Regions from separate parts of the Homo sapiens genome. Here region 1 is linked to region 2. Evidence: promoter capture Hi-C in human tissues and cell types (Jung and others, 2019). All regions are on one chromosome and are shown on one strand. Each heading gives the region's core, a stretch centred on a gene start or on the middle of the fragment in contact. The rest is flanking DNA. Distances are from core to core; before and after follow the strand shown.

Region 1 (6,485 bases), core at 1,459-3,958, 370 kb after region 2:
CTTTGGGGAGAATGGGGGAAGCCACAGGGAATAGTTGAAAGGATGTGGTTTTGGAGACAGACTTCAGTTTGAATCCAAACCTAACTACTTGCTGACTTTGTGGCTTTGGGCAAGTGCCCTAGTGTTTGGGGGTATGGGGGCCCCAAAGGTGTCACAGCTGTGAGCACCAGGCTGCAAGTCATGCTGGGTCTCAGCAATGGGACGGGGCTGAGGAGGGGTGATGGAGGAAGCTCAGAAAGTGCAGGTCTGGAGTCGGGCCTGTAGTCTGCCTGGAGAACAGATTCTTGAATGGGAAAATCCAGAATTCAGATCTCAATGTCCAGATGGGGTCACTGAATATTCAGGTTCAGTCCAGGCTGGCATCAGTGTCCAAATTCCACATGGGCCCTTGGGTTCAAGAAGGATGCTAACTGGGACACTGTACCATATGTGAAACAAGAAACAGAGCATGGTGTTCAGGAGCATGAACCAGGAAACAGACTCCCTGGCTCCAAATCTTTACTTTGCCACTTATTAGCTGGCAAAGTGTTTAACCTTTTGCGACTCAATTTCCTCATCTGTAAAATGAGGCTAGTCATTGTACCCATGATACTCAAGGATTTATTGTTAAAATTCATGAGTTAATATATGTAAAGGGCTTAGAAAATTGTTTGGCAGCTAGGATGTGCTACATAGGGAGAGCTTTTAAAAATAAAATTAAAGCAAGTTCTCCTAATCCTGAATTATTATTATTATTATTAATTATTATTATTTTAGATATGAGGGTCTCATTGTGTTGCCCAGGCTGGAGTCGCTCAAGTGATCCTCCCACTTCAGCCTCCTGAGTAGCTGGGACTACATGCACACGCCACCATGCCCACCTCCTTTCACAGAAAACTTAATTGCCTTTTCCTTTCCTATTCACTTGTATGAGTAAAAATCATATATGGCTTTACAAACCCAGGCATCATCTTTAATGCTTCTGTCTCTGCACCCCACCAATCCAATCAACCACTCAGTCTTCCTGCCCTTTCTGCCACTGCCCAGCCGTGCCTCCGTTGTGCCTCTCCTGGACGAGGCTTCAGCTCACCTCATAACTGCCCTCTGGTCTCCCTAGCTCTAGACTCACCTTATCTAATCCATTCATCACACTTCCAGCAAAGCAGTCATTATAAATCACAATCTGATCACATTGTCCATTTTAAGCCATTCCATTGGGCTTCTCCTATTATCTACAGGAGTCATTAAAACTCCTTGGCACACAAGGTCCTACAGGTTCCCCTACAAATTCCTGCAGCTTTATTTACTATCTCCTGCCCCCACCCTTGACACTCCAGGAATACTAACTTTCCTGTTGTCACCCATACCACACACACAGGTGCACACACACACAGACCACTCCTTCACACACACACACACACACACACACACCATGCTTCACTTGTTCATTTGCCTAAAATATCCTCCCAGCTTCTCCCACCTCCCTCCACCCACCCCTCATCTCGACACTATCACTACCCCCACGCATTGCTTGCCAGCTCCTGGACCCAGTAAGCAGCTAAGACCCCGGTGTCGCTTCCTCCTGGAATCCTTCCCTGAAGCCACCCGTTGGATTAGACATTTGTGTCCATTAGGATAATCTTAGATAAAAAGTTCCTAAATTTCAGTGGTTTGATGCAATAGAGGTTTGTCATTCTGTGATAGTCTAAAGTAGGCATCCCTTGTTGGCAAGCAGCTTTCCCTCATGCGGGAATTAGAGATGCGTCTTTTGGCTCCATAACCCGTAGGGTCTCAGGGTCGTCTACATCCAGCTAATGAAAGGGGTAAGAGGGACTGGAAGAGGCACACCCACTTCTTAAGATCTCTGGCCAGAGTGGTAACCTCACTCCCACCCATATCCCATTGGTGGGAATGAGTCACAAGGTCATGCCTGGCTGCAAGGAGGGCTGGGAAGTATAGTCCAGGAGCCTTCCAGCTCCACCCTGTTGACAGGGGAGCATGCCATTTGGTAGGCTGTTGGTTCTTGCAGCCACAGGGCCTCTTCTTGTCTCTATGTCCACCTCAGAGTTTTCACAATATGTGGCTATAATCTGTTTTCATGCCCATCTCTCCCACCAGATTGTGAGCTCCTTGAGGGCAAAGGCCTTGCTCTTTTTATCTCTGTACCCGGTGTCTGGCACTGGTGCTTGGGACTATTGGATGAATGGATGACCTGAGTAAGAACGAGCTCAGCACCTGTGTGGGTCTGATCCTGCAGGCAGACAGTCCTCTCTGCGAGCAACTGAGCCAGACTGGGGAAAGCAGGGACACCAGGACAGGTCATGAAGGCCGATCTACCCAGAAAAACACAGAAGACCGGGAGAATGACTTGGCTCCTGTGAGAGGTTTGCATCTCCATCTCCATGGGATTCGCAGGCCAAGAAGGGCTCAAACCCTGAGAGCTCTGAAACACATATTCTTCATAGCTAACACTTACATGTAAGCCCATGCCATGTGTCAAGCACTATCCACCAATCCTCACAACAACCCCATTTTGCAGATAAGGAAATCAAGACTTGGAAAGGTTAAATGAACATGATACTGCCTCTATCCAAGGGCTTTTTTTCTTCTTCGGAGCCCCAACAAGCCCTAGGACAAGGATGGCTTCAGCCTATCTTCTAGAATTTCTGTCAATGAGGATTCAGTTTTGGAGGACAGCAGATGTTTGACTTCCTGGAGGACAAAGCAGAAAAGCCGACACTTTGAACTTTCTTACCCCTGTTTGAACATCAGTGCTCAGGTAACAGGCCAGTGGCTGGAGAGCAAGCTTCCAAGATTACTCTTCACTGTGAATTCTCCAGCATTTTCCAAGCAAAGAAAAGCTGGACCTTCCACTGATGTTTACATCTGACAATGTCTTTTGGTCAAATTAAAAAACAGTAGAGGCTGAAGCCAAATAACAAACTACAAGGCCAGCTCATCTCAACATGACACTCATGCAGAATTAACAGTGATAGTGTTATGACAGGAGCCTGATACTCTCTCTGCATTCAACGTTAGGGCCAAATACCCAGAAGCCAGTGGTGCAGAAACACAGCTTCATCCGGCCATGCTTCATGTCCCCTATGCCAGCATTTCCATAATCTTAACTGGATAACAACCACAGACCCTCCTGGGAAATCACGGCCTCGGAAGTGTTTTCACACTGATGACAAGAGAAACAGCTGTAATTTGTCATTATAGAAATATCCAATTATCAGGCCACTGAGTGATGTCTGCAGCCTCCTGTCCTCACTGCCATCAGTCTGGGCTCCGAGCAACACACCTGTTAGGGCCAGGGCCTGGCAGATGACACCCACAGAAGAGCCTGGCTTTCTTCTCCCATCACCTCCTGGAGAATCCAGCAGCCCCTGTCTCTGGCAGAAGTGCCTCCAAGGTCTCCTCCTGATACCACCTTTTAATGCAGGAAGAGCAGATTATGAGTGACTCAGCTCCTGGCTGAACCACACCCTCTTACAGGGCCATTGTCTATACCCTGGCAGAAGTTGCTTTTTCTCCTCACTTTTTCTGCAACAGGATAGAGCGGTCTGTGATAAGTTTAAGTGATCAGATGTGAAATCAGGCAGTCCTGGGTTCAATTCATGTTCCCAGGACATCCCTGCTACATGACCTGTGAGGTACACTTGTGAAAGAATCCTCCCTTGGTGGAATACACTAGGAAAAAAGCAAATAGAAGAAAAACAACTAAATCTGAGCTACTCTTGGTACACTGCCTGTGGGTTAGCCCTGCTCCACAAGGAACAGAAAAAAAAAAAAAAAGAGGGAGGGAAGGAAGGAAGGAAGGGAGGAAGGGAACAGAGAGAGGGGAAAGAAAGAAAAGAAAAGAGAGAGAGAAAGGGAAAAGAGAATAGGAAAAAAGAAAAGAAAAGAAAGACAACTAAATCTGGTGCAATAGTAATAGCAAACACTTATAGGCACTTCATGCTATGTATGTATTAACTCATTTTATCCTCACAACAACCCTGCAAAGTGGGTACGATTATATTTATTTTATAGATGAGGAAACTAAGGCAAAGAAATATCAAGGAACTTAACCCAGGACACCTGGTTGTGACAGATGTGGGATTTATACAGGCACTCTGGTTCAAGGATTGTCCTACTAACATGTTACACTCCTTTTAACAAGTATTATTGTCGTCTATGCACCAGGCATTGTATTAAGTTCTTTCTACACCTTACCTCATTTAATCCTGACAATACATTATCTCCAGTGTACAGATAAATAAACTGAGGCACAGAAAGTTTAAGTAACCTGCCCAAGTTCTCAGAGCTACTAAGTCACAGCCAGGACTCAGATCCAGGTGTTCTGGCACAGTCTGCATACTGAGCCACTGTCTGTATATACTATGCTATAGTTCCTTGACTAGTTTATATGCACTCTTGCATTTAATTAATCTTCCCAATAACCCCTGAGAAAGGTACTATTATTACCCCCATTTTCTCAACTGGGAAACTGAGAATTACAGAATCTAAACAAATTACAGTCAGTAATCAAGGACCCAGGATTCAAATGCAGGCATTATCTGGAACTCCCTATTTAAAATCCCTATGCTATAGCAACTTCCTATCCCAATCCAATGCCTGCTTATTCACAGAACACGTGAATTTGAATTTAATTGAACTGAAACATGAATGGTCTTCTCAGGACCTGGTTCACACACCACTTCCTCCCAGATGGCCTCTCTTAATCTGTTGACAGAAATCATCTCTTTTTCCTCTGTTTAATCTCTGAGCTGGCTTTGGTACCCAAAATGGCTCTTGATCACTTCCATAGACAGTCCCACTGCAATTGGGTAAAACTCCCTGTGCCAAGTTGTTGAAGGTGCTATGGCCTGCCCCAGACCTCACTGTGATGACACGAGAGAGCAGGCAGTGGTGGGAAGAGGGAAAGCAGTCACAGGAGAGCAAGAGCTAGCTACCCAGGGTCAGAAACCTCATAAGAAACAAGAACAACAAGGACAGGGAACATAGAGAAGAGACCACAACAACAAAATTTGGAGAAATGGTAAGCAATTGGTTAAATGGTCACTGACTTGGTAGAGCTGTAGACGGTCAATCTTAACCCGACAGTGGAGAAAGCTGAGAATTAACACAATATAATAGGCATGGAGATGAGCGGCACTGATGCCTCTGGATCCGAGGATGGAGAAGGTAAAACAAGTTAGATTGGTCAAGAATTATTTAAGAAGCAATTAGAGCTTCTTTCCGTGCCTCTATGCCCGCAGGTGACTACCCTGCCCCATTCTCAAGAATACAGGAGGTTTATTCTCTGTAGAGCACAAAATAAAGGGTGTCTGGACTGAAGAACAACAGAACCAGTTGAAGGCCAAGATACCACATTAAATTAAGTGAACATACACATATGAAGTGTTGAGACTCTCATCTTGCTACCTGCACCGGGCTCCTAGAACATCAGCAACCAGGCCTTTGCCTTCCAGGCAGCAGAGTGGTAGGGTCTATGAAAGGTATCTGGCTGGTTCAAGAGAAAAGATTTTTTGAAAATTGACATTGGGGTTTTCCCTAGCAAATGGCATAGCTGGATAACCCTACAGAAAAGTTTCCGGTGTATAAACATCCTCTACAGATTTTTAGTCCCCGGCTCCTAAGCATGAGTAGATATCTAAGAATTACCAAGCAGCTTAGGAAAGTCTCCAGCATGAAGGACAGAAACCAAAAGAAATGGGACAGGGGGCGGGAGTGGGGAGGAAACAGGCCATACAAGAAGGAAAACATTAAAAAATTACTTTAGCCGGGCGCGGTGGCTCACGGCCTGCAATCCCAGCACTTTGGGAGGCCAAGACGGGCGGATCACGAGGTCCGAGACCATCCTGGCTAACACAGTGAAACCCCGTCTCTACTAAAAATACAAAAAAAATAGCCGGGCGTGGTGGCGGGCGCCTGCAGTCCCAGCTACTCCGGGGGCAGAGGCAGGAGAATGGCGTGAACCCGGGAGGCGGAGCTTGCAGTGAGCCGAGATTGCGCCACTGCACTGCAGTCTGGGTGACAGAGCTAGACTCCGTCTAAAAAAAAATAAAATAAAATAACTTTAATATGCTCACAGAACTAAAAGAATACATTATATCTATGAAACAAGAATAGGATGCTATAAAAGGGGAGTGGGACCTTCAAAGAACAAGGAGAAGCTCTAGGAAATTAAAAATATAAGAGTGAAAATGAGAAACTCAACAGAAGGACTGAGGAGCTAAGGAAACTACCCAGACTGATGGAAAAGGAAGAATATAAGGTAAGATAATTAAAGAGCCAATTCAGTAGCTCCAATATCTCCACAATAGGAATTCCAGAAACAGAAGACCCTCTAATACCAATTAAAGTCTTCCCAGATGTATAGGCAATGAGTTTCCAGACTGAAAGGGAGTGCCCTGCAAAATAATTAAAAATACCCAAACCAAAGCACATCATTGTGAACTTTCAAAACACAAAGACCCTACACATTTCCAGAGGGAAAA
Region 2 (7,154 bases), core at 3,728-6,227:
ATACCTGGATTCAACAGAAAGCCAAAACTATAAAACTAAGGTAAAAAGAAAGAAAAAACTTTGAGGTAAGACAATGGGATCAGGTGCCCTCTATGTGACCATTTCTGAAAACAGAAGAGATTTTAAAATTGGACATGGGCATAGGAGATGGAGGCAGGGACAGTGTGATCCCACAGTCTCAGAGAAGAATCAGCCAGAAAGATAGGAGCTGTATTGGTGGAAAATCACAGATGTTAGGGAAAGGCAGCATTTCAGAACTCAAACAGGCAGGCAAACATGAATACTAATGATAATAGCTACCATTTGTTGAACATTTATTTTGTATTTAGTGCATTTATTCAATAAATATTTATAAAGCACCTACCATTCTAGATGCTGGGCCAAGCACTGGATATGCAGTGATGAATGAGATAACTTAGGTTTGCCCTCATAGAACTTATATTCTAGTGAGTTTTATGCTGTATGTCATTTACCCCTCCCAAGAATCACAGGAAACCAGAATTACTGTCACCGGTTTACAGATGAGGCCACTGAGGCTCAGAGAAGTTAAGGAACTTGCCCTGGTCCCAAGAGAAAAAGTGGAGGAGCCTGGATTTAAACACAGTTCTGTCCAAAGCCTGTGAACCAACAGCCTGTGCTCTGAGAAAGCAAGTGGAGAAAAGGCATTAGACACAGCCATAAGAAGGCTTTGGGGGGAATAGTTGGAGTCAAGGGGAAGTGATAGAAGACAGATTTCAAAGGTCTAAGGAGGGAGTGGGTGGAGATTGATGGAAGGCGGAGAGTTTAGAGATTGTATTTGACCAGAAAGGGAGGCAGAGGGACTCCTTGGAGATTGTATTTGACCAGAAAGGGAGGCAGAGGGACTCCTTGAAGACTGGGAATCTAGTGCCTGCTTGCAGGCAGAGGGCAAGTGCCTGAGCCTTGAGAAAGTACAGACTTGACCTTGAGAGAGTAGTTGAAATTTTGTTGCCTTCTAGGTGGTCAGCTGTAGACAGACCTTCTCCTGGGAACTGTAGGGCCTGAAATTCCCAAGGTCTTTGAGGTCGGAGCAACCTGAGGCCTCTGAGGCCAAAGCATCTGCGATTTGAGGGTGTTCCCTAGCTGGTGATTTCCATATACAAGGACATTTCGGTACCCCAAGCAGCCAGTCTAGAACCAATTGGTCTGCCCCATACCCAGCGGCTCCAGGAAGGCATCTGAAAACATGGAGCAGGAAGCTCCGTGGCTATTGCGTGTTATCCCCTAGCACACCAGCCAGCCGTGGAGTGACTCTTTGCAATTACAAACCAGCAGCTGAGTAGACGCAGTTTAAAAGTACGTTGTAAAAGTTTTATGGTTAGTGAAGATAAGTGCAAAATTAATCCCTACAGAACAAAGCAATTTAAAAAGTACATAATGAAGTGATTAGCTAGAAATGGTGGGGAGCAGAAGGAGAGTGCCCAAGAACAATTTTACTCAGGAATGGTCTTCACACTTTGGTTTTTTCAATTGCATTCAATGAGGGAGCTGTATAAAAGAGAGATTAATAACATGCACAAACGAGGTAACAATTGATGAAGGATTTGGGGAGTCAACCTGAAGGAAATTTTTACCTTCTTAAAAAGTTTGGATGAAGGGGAAAAATAGCTATAAAGGCTTTGATTGGGACAATTGGTGAACTTTGATTATAGACTGGGGATTTGATAATAGTCATGTATCAATGTTTAATTTCCTGAATTTTGGAAAAAAGCAAAAACAAAAGCCAAAGAAACCTGGAAGCTCACAATGTATGTTAAAGCTCCCCAGAGTCATTTTCTGTCTCCCTTTTGTTTCCATTTTTGTTCTTTGTTCTTCTTTAGCTGAGTCTGCATGCTGGTCGGTATCAGACCCTGGAAGGTAGCTTCTTGGCCACCATTACATTGTTATTCTAGTTTTCCTGGAAGAGACCACCAAGCAAGGCCAGAATCATTTCCTCAGAAGAACTGCCACAAACTGAGCAAGGGTTCCTTCTCCTCCTCCTCTGACACTGCTGTGGTTTTCCTTGGACAAGATCCGATATTCATAAATCTGAAGTTGCAGAAGGAGGGGTCAGGGGCATCTCCAAATACAAATGTTCTTGGCTTTGTAAAGCAATGCAAAGGGCAGGGTACCTGTGAGCACATTTTTTTCTAGTGCTGTAGGTGCTGGTATCCAGAAATTACCCTTACACACAAGTTTTTCTATAAAGTTTGGTATCCAGAAATTACCCCTGCACACAAGTTTTTCTATAAAACAAAGCCTACCTGTATACAAAGTCAGTCCTGAAAATAAAGAGTTAACCCCTGGTGTAAATGGCCCAGGAACACCATTCACTCCTTTAGGTCTTGCCTCTCTCTCTTTCTGTCTGTCTAGTTTGGGAAAGTTCAAGAGACAGGGCTCTGGTCTCTGGAGCACTGAATGGTGGGGTGCTCTGTTTTATTCCTCAGGCCTGCTTCAAATGCTGCACATCAGGAGGTGAGGGTCTTGATGACTTGCTTAATTTTCACCACACTAGGATTGTAGTAATATAGAGAAATCATGGACTAGGGGAGGGAAAAGATTAGTAAGACCATGATTTTAAGACAGATACTTATTTGGGATTTCAGTGTTTCTAAAATCAGGTTGGACCTTATACATTTGGCATATATAAATAAATAATAAATATGTAAATAAATTTTAATTTACTGTCCAAACTAGAAGCTTTTGCGAGTGAAAGGGGGTGCTACTAATAACAGTGGAACACTAGGTATAAACCAGAATAGTCCCCAGCAAACCAGAACATATGGTCATTCTACTGAGAATTTTTTGTGCATGTTTAATCACCTCCTTAAATGCCCCATCTCCAATATAGTCACATGGGGAGTTACAGCCTCAGCATATGAATTTGAGGAAGGGGGAGACAATTCAGTCCATAGGGAGTGCTGTAACAGAAAAAACACAGTGTAAGTATCAGAAAGTCAGGGATTTTTTATATTTTGTTCTGTGGTAAGATTCCCATCTCCTACAACAAAGACTGGCACATAGTAAGTGCTCAGTAAATAATTGCTGAACTGCATTAAAGCAGAGGAGGGACATGCTCTGATGTATAATTTTAAAAAGTGGATTGGAGGGCAATACGGATTGAAGGGCAACACGACAACGCAGAAAGACCAGGGAAGAGGCTCTGGATGGAGATGCCCACACAAAAATAATAGGGACTTGGACCAGGATGTTGGCTGTGCAGATGGAGAGAAGTGATTAAATTCAAGCTATATTTAGGAGGTAGAACTGTCTGCTTTTGCCGATGTATTGGATGTGGAGAGGGAGGAAGAAGACATTGCTACAGATGAATTACAGGTTACAGGCTTCGGCTATTAGATGGATGAGGGGCAGACTAAGGGACAGATGGGGAGGCAGGGAAGAAAATCGGGAACTTCGTTTTGGACATGGTAAGGTTGAGATGCCTGAGACACATGAGAGTGAAGGTGAGACGTAGGCACTTGGGTATATAAATCTTGAGCTCAGAGGAATGTAGTGTGTTTTCCCCTGTCCCGAAAAGCTGTGGTATAGCAATAGTGAATCTTATCATCAGTGGAATATTATAGTGATAATAATTATAGCTGATACTTAGGGGCCTCTAAACTTCTTCCAGGTGATGAAATAAACTGTCTCTGTGTATTACTTCATTTAATTCTCACAGCAACTATCTTTGGAATTTATCACTTTTATCTCCATTTCATAGACAAGGAAACTGAGTGTTGGAAGGTGAAGTGAATTGCCTAAAGTCACCAGTTCAGCAAATGGGAAATGTAGGACTTGACACCAAGACTGTTTGGCCCCAGAGGCTATGCTCTGAACCATAATGACTTCCTGTCTTCCAAAAGGCAGGCTCTTGGATCCATATCTTACTGTGCTTCTAAATTATCCTGTGACCCTGAACCTTAGTTTGCTCACCTGGGAAATGAAGGGAGGTCCTGGTTAGGTTCCCTTCAGTTCTACTCTATTGCAGTATGCTGATCTCTTTTGTAAATCTGTATTAAATGAGAGTTTGCTATCGGTGACTTTCAGAGATGACACCAGTGATGATGCCCATGCTGACGATTCATTCTGATGTCTATGAAAAGAGCAAATCCTTTAAGAGAAGATGTAGCATACCAGTGTTTATAATCTGAGTTTCATTTGATTAAGAGGGGAAGCTCTTTAGAACAAATATCATTTCTGAGCGAGAGAATGTTCAGCATCTCAGCCTCATTTGTATCATTTGATAAAAGGGCCCCACTGAGCCAAGTGTGAGGATGATGCTTGAGCCAGACACATAGACACCAGACATTCCTCTGATGTCTGCTCCCCAGGCTTGGCCACATTGCCTCCCACCAACCCCATCTCAATGACACATCCATTACCTGCCATCAGTTGGCTCTATGGTGCTGGGAATGACAGAGTGTATCTACCCTGGATTTCAGAAAGAACCCTCCTGGCTTATCATGGCAACACCCTTTGGACACTCGTTTAAAGAGTCCTTCTTTGGGCCAGTGTTATCCTTTTGGGGGCATCTGGTATGGACGGCCAATTTGAATCTGACTGGGACATGCTAATGAGCCATTCATATGTGTGGGATTTGTTTCTGATTCGATTAAGCTTCAGAGAGAGGAAAGAAACAGCCACTGATTAGAGACATAAAAAAAGAAATACTTTAAGTGAGTAAGTGGTTCATCTTCATATAGGAAAGTATAAATTAAACATGGTCCAGGAGATGTGCTTTGAATAGCAGCTGGATAGCACAAGCATGTCCACAAGGAGACGGTGCCTCACAGCAATTGAAAGGGACTTAACCCCCAAAAAGGGCTCTGAATATGCTGAGTAAATAGATGAGCCCAGTTAGCTGATAAAAATGACTCTCAGATTAGAGATGGGAAGGTTTTTATTTGGATTTTAGAAAATTGCTCCCCACTCCATCGCCGCCATATTGTCTGTGTGAGCAGAAGGGAGAGCGGCCACAGCCGCTGCCGCTTCCACCACAGTGTGAAGAAAACAGGTCTGAAACAAGGTCTTACCCCCAAGCTGCTTCTGAACACAGTGACTGCCAGATCTCCAAACATCAAGTCCAGCTTTGTCCGCCAACCTGTCTGACATGTCGGGACCCGTGCCAAGCAGGGCCAGAGTTTACACAGATGTTAATACACACAGACCTCGAGAATACTGGGATTACGAGTCACATGTGGTGGAATGGGGAAATCAAGATGACTACCAGCTGGTTCGAAAATTAGGCCGAGGTAAATACAGTGAAGTATTTGAAGCCATCAACATCACAAATAATGAAAAAGTTGTTGTTAAAATTCTCAAGCCAGTAAAAAAGAAGAAAATTAAGCGTGAAATAAAGATTTTGGAGAATTTGAGAGGAGGTCCCAACATCATCACACTGGCAGACATTGTAAAAGACCCTGTGTCACGAACCCCCGCCTTGGTTTTTGAACACGTAAACAACACAGACTTCAAGCAATTGTACCAGACGTTAACAGACTATGATATTCGATTTTACATGTATGAGATTCTGAAGGCCCTGGATTATTGTCACAGCATGGGAATTATGCACAGAGATGTCAAGCCCCATAATGTCATGATTGATCATGAGCACAGAAAGCTACGACTAATAGACTGGGGTTTGGCTGAGTTTTATCATCCTGGCCAAGAATATAATGTCCGAGTTGCTTCCCGATACTTCAAAGGTCCTGAGCTACTTGTAGACTATCAGATGTACGATTATAGTTTGGATATGTGGAGATTGGGTTGTATGCTGGCAAGTATGATCTTTCGGAAGGAGCCATTTTTCCATGGACGTGACAATTATGATCAGTTGGTGAGGATAGCCAAGTTTCTGGGGACAGAAGATTTATATGGCTATATTGACAAATACAACATTGAATTAGATCCACGTTTCAATGATATCTTGGGCAGACACTCTCGAAAGCGATGGGAACGCTTTGTCCACAGTGAAAATCAGCACCTTGTCAGCCCTGAGGCCTTGGATTTCCTGGACAAACTGCTGCGATATGACCACCAGTCACGGCTTACTGCAAGAGAGGCCATGGAGCACCCCTATTTCTACACTGTTGTGAAGGACCAGGCTCGAATGGGTTCATCTAGCATGCCAGGGGGCAGTACGCCCGTCAGCAGCGCCAATGTGATGTCAGGGATTTCTTCAGTGCCAACTCCTTCACCCCTTGGACCTCTGGCAGGCTCACCAGTGATTGCTGCTGCCAACCCCCTTGGGATGCCTGTTCCAGCTGCCACTGGCGCTCAGCAGTAACGGCCCTATCTGTCTCCTGATGCCTGAGCAGAGGTGGGGGAGTCCACCCCCTCCTTGATGCAGCTTGCGCCTGGCGGGGAGGGGTGAAACACTTCAGAAGCAACGTGTCTGAACCGTTGCTTGTGGATTTATAGTAGTTCAGTCATAAAAAAAAATTATAATAGGCTGAAAAAAAAAAAAAAGAAAATTGCTCCCCAAATCCCTATGACATTTAAGCTCATTGTCATTCTCTGGCAGCACCAGTGACAGTAATGGGGGCCAGAGATCCTATTTCAAAACAAAGAAGTGATTACAGTAGATAGCGCAGGTGTCAATGGGACCCTGATTTGGAACTTGCTAATACTTCTGTCTCTGAGTTTGGGGCTTCTATAGGGTTTTGGTTCCATAGATATGCCTGGACTTGAACTAGCTTACCTTCCCAGCCTTGTGCATCGGGAAGCTGTGAGGGTCAGATCCTTCTAGATTTTGTGTCCCCTTACAAGGGTTGGAAGAGTCTGGCTGCAGCCCTGGCCTCACCAGCTGGCTCCCTCTTGCGTAAGTGGAGTTGCCACAGGGCTTCTGTCTGTGGCTTTCCAAGGAACCTGGAGCTGTATGTCATCTTCAAACCTGGACCTTTCCTCTACCACCCTGGCTAGCTTCACCCTTGGTTTCCTGCCCTCTGCTCTGGTTCTGAGTTTGAACCAAACTCTCACAGCAGCCCGATGTGCAGGAGTCCAAATGTCCTGCCTGCCCCTTGCAGCTCCCTCTCTCACCCCTTGGGGCTAGATCTGCTCCCTGCATCCTCAGCCTCTAGTGGGGTACTGCTTTGAATGAACTCATCAGCTGGAATTGGGAAGCGGTCACCTTCCAGACACTCCATCTGTCCCTATAC

What was found. Contacts are between HindIII fragments. The study calls those that stand out against the background at their distance.
Region 1: a contact is called between a fragment that was not itself captured here and the fragment with the promoter of CSNK2A3 in region 2, in 2 of the 25 tissues and cell types used here (IMR-90 fibroblasts and mesendoderm cells).

What each region holds. Positions count from the first base shown.
Region 1 is chr11:10,979,869-10,986,353 of GRCh38, reverse strand. No RefSeq gene overlaps it. Among named protein-coding and RNA genes, the nearest start is that of ZBED5-AS1, 120 kb to the right of the region's middle. The HindIII fragment of the contact is 6,426 bases long and covers 1-5,921 here.
Region 2 is chr11:11,351,073-11,358,226 of GRCh38, reverse strand. It overlaps CSNK2A3 (casein kinase 2 alpha 3), which reads left to right and starts at 4,977. Exons shown (of 1, transcript NM_001256686.2): 1 at 4,977-6,285. The coding sequence starts at 5,108. The coding sequence ends at 6,283. The region is part of intron 6 of GALNT18 (polypeptide N-acetylgalactosaminyltransferase 18); the gene reads left to right. The HindIII fragment of the contact is 7,765 bases long and covers 3,657-7,154 here.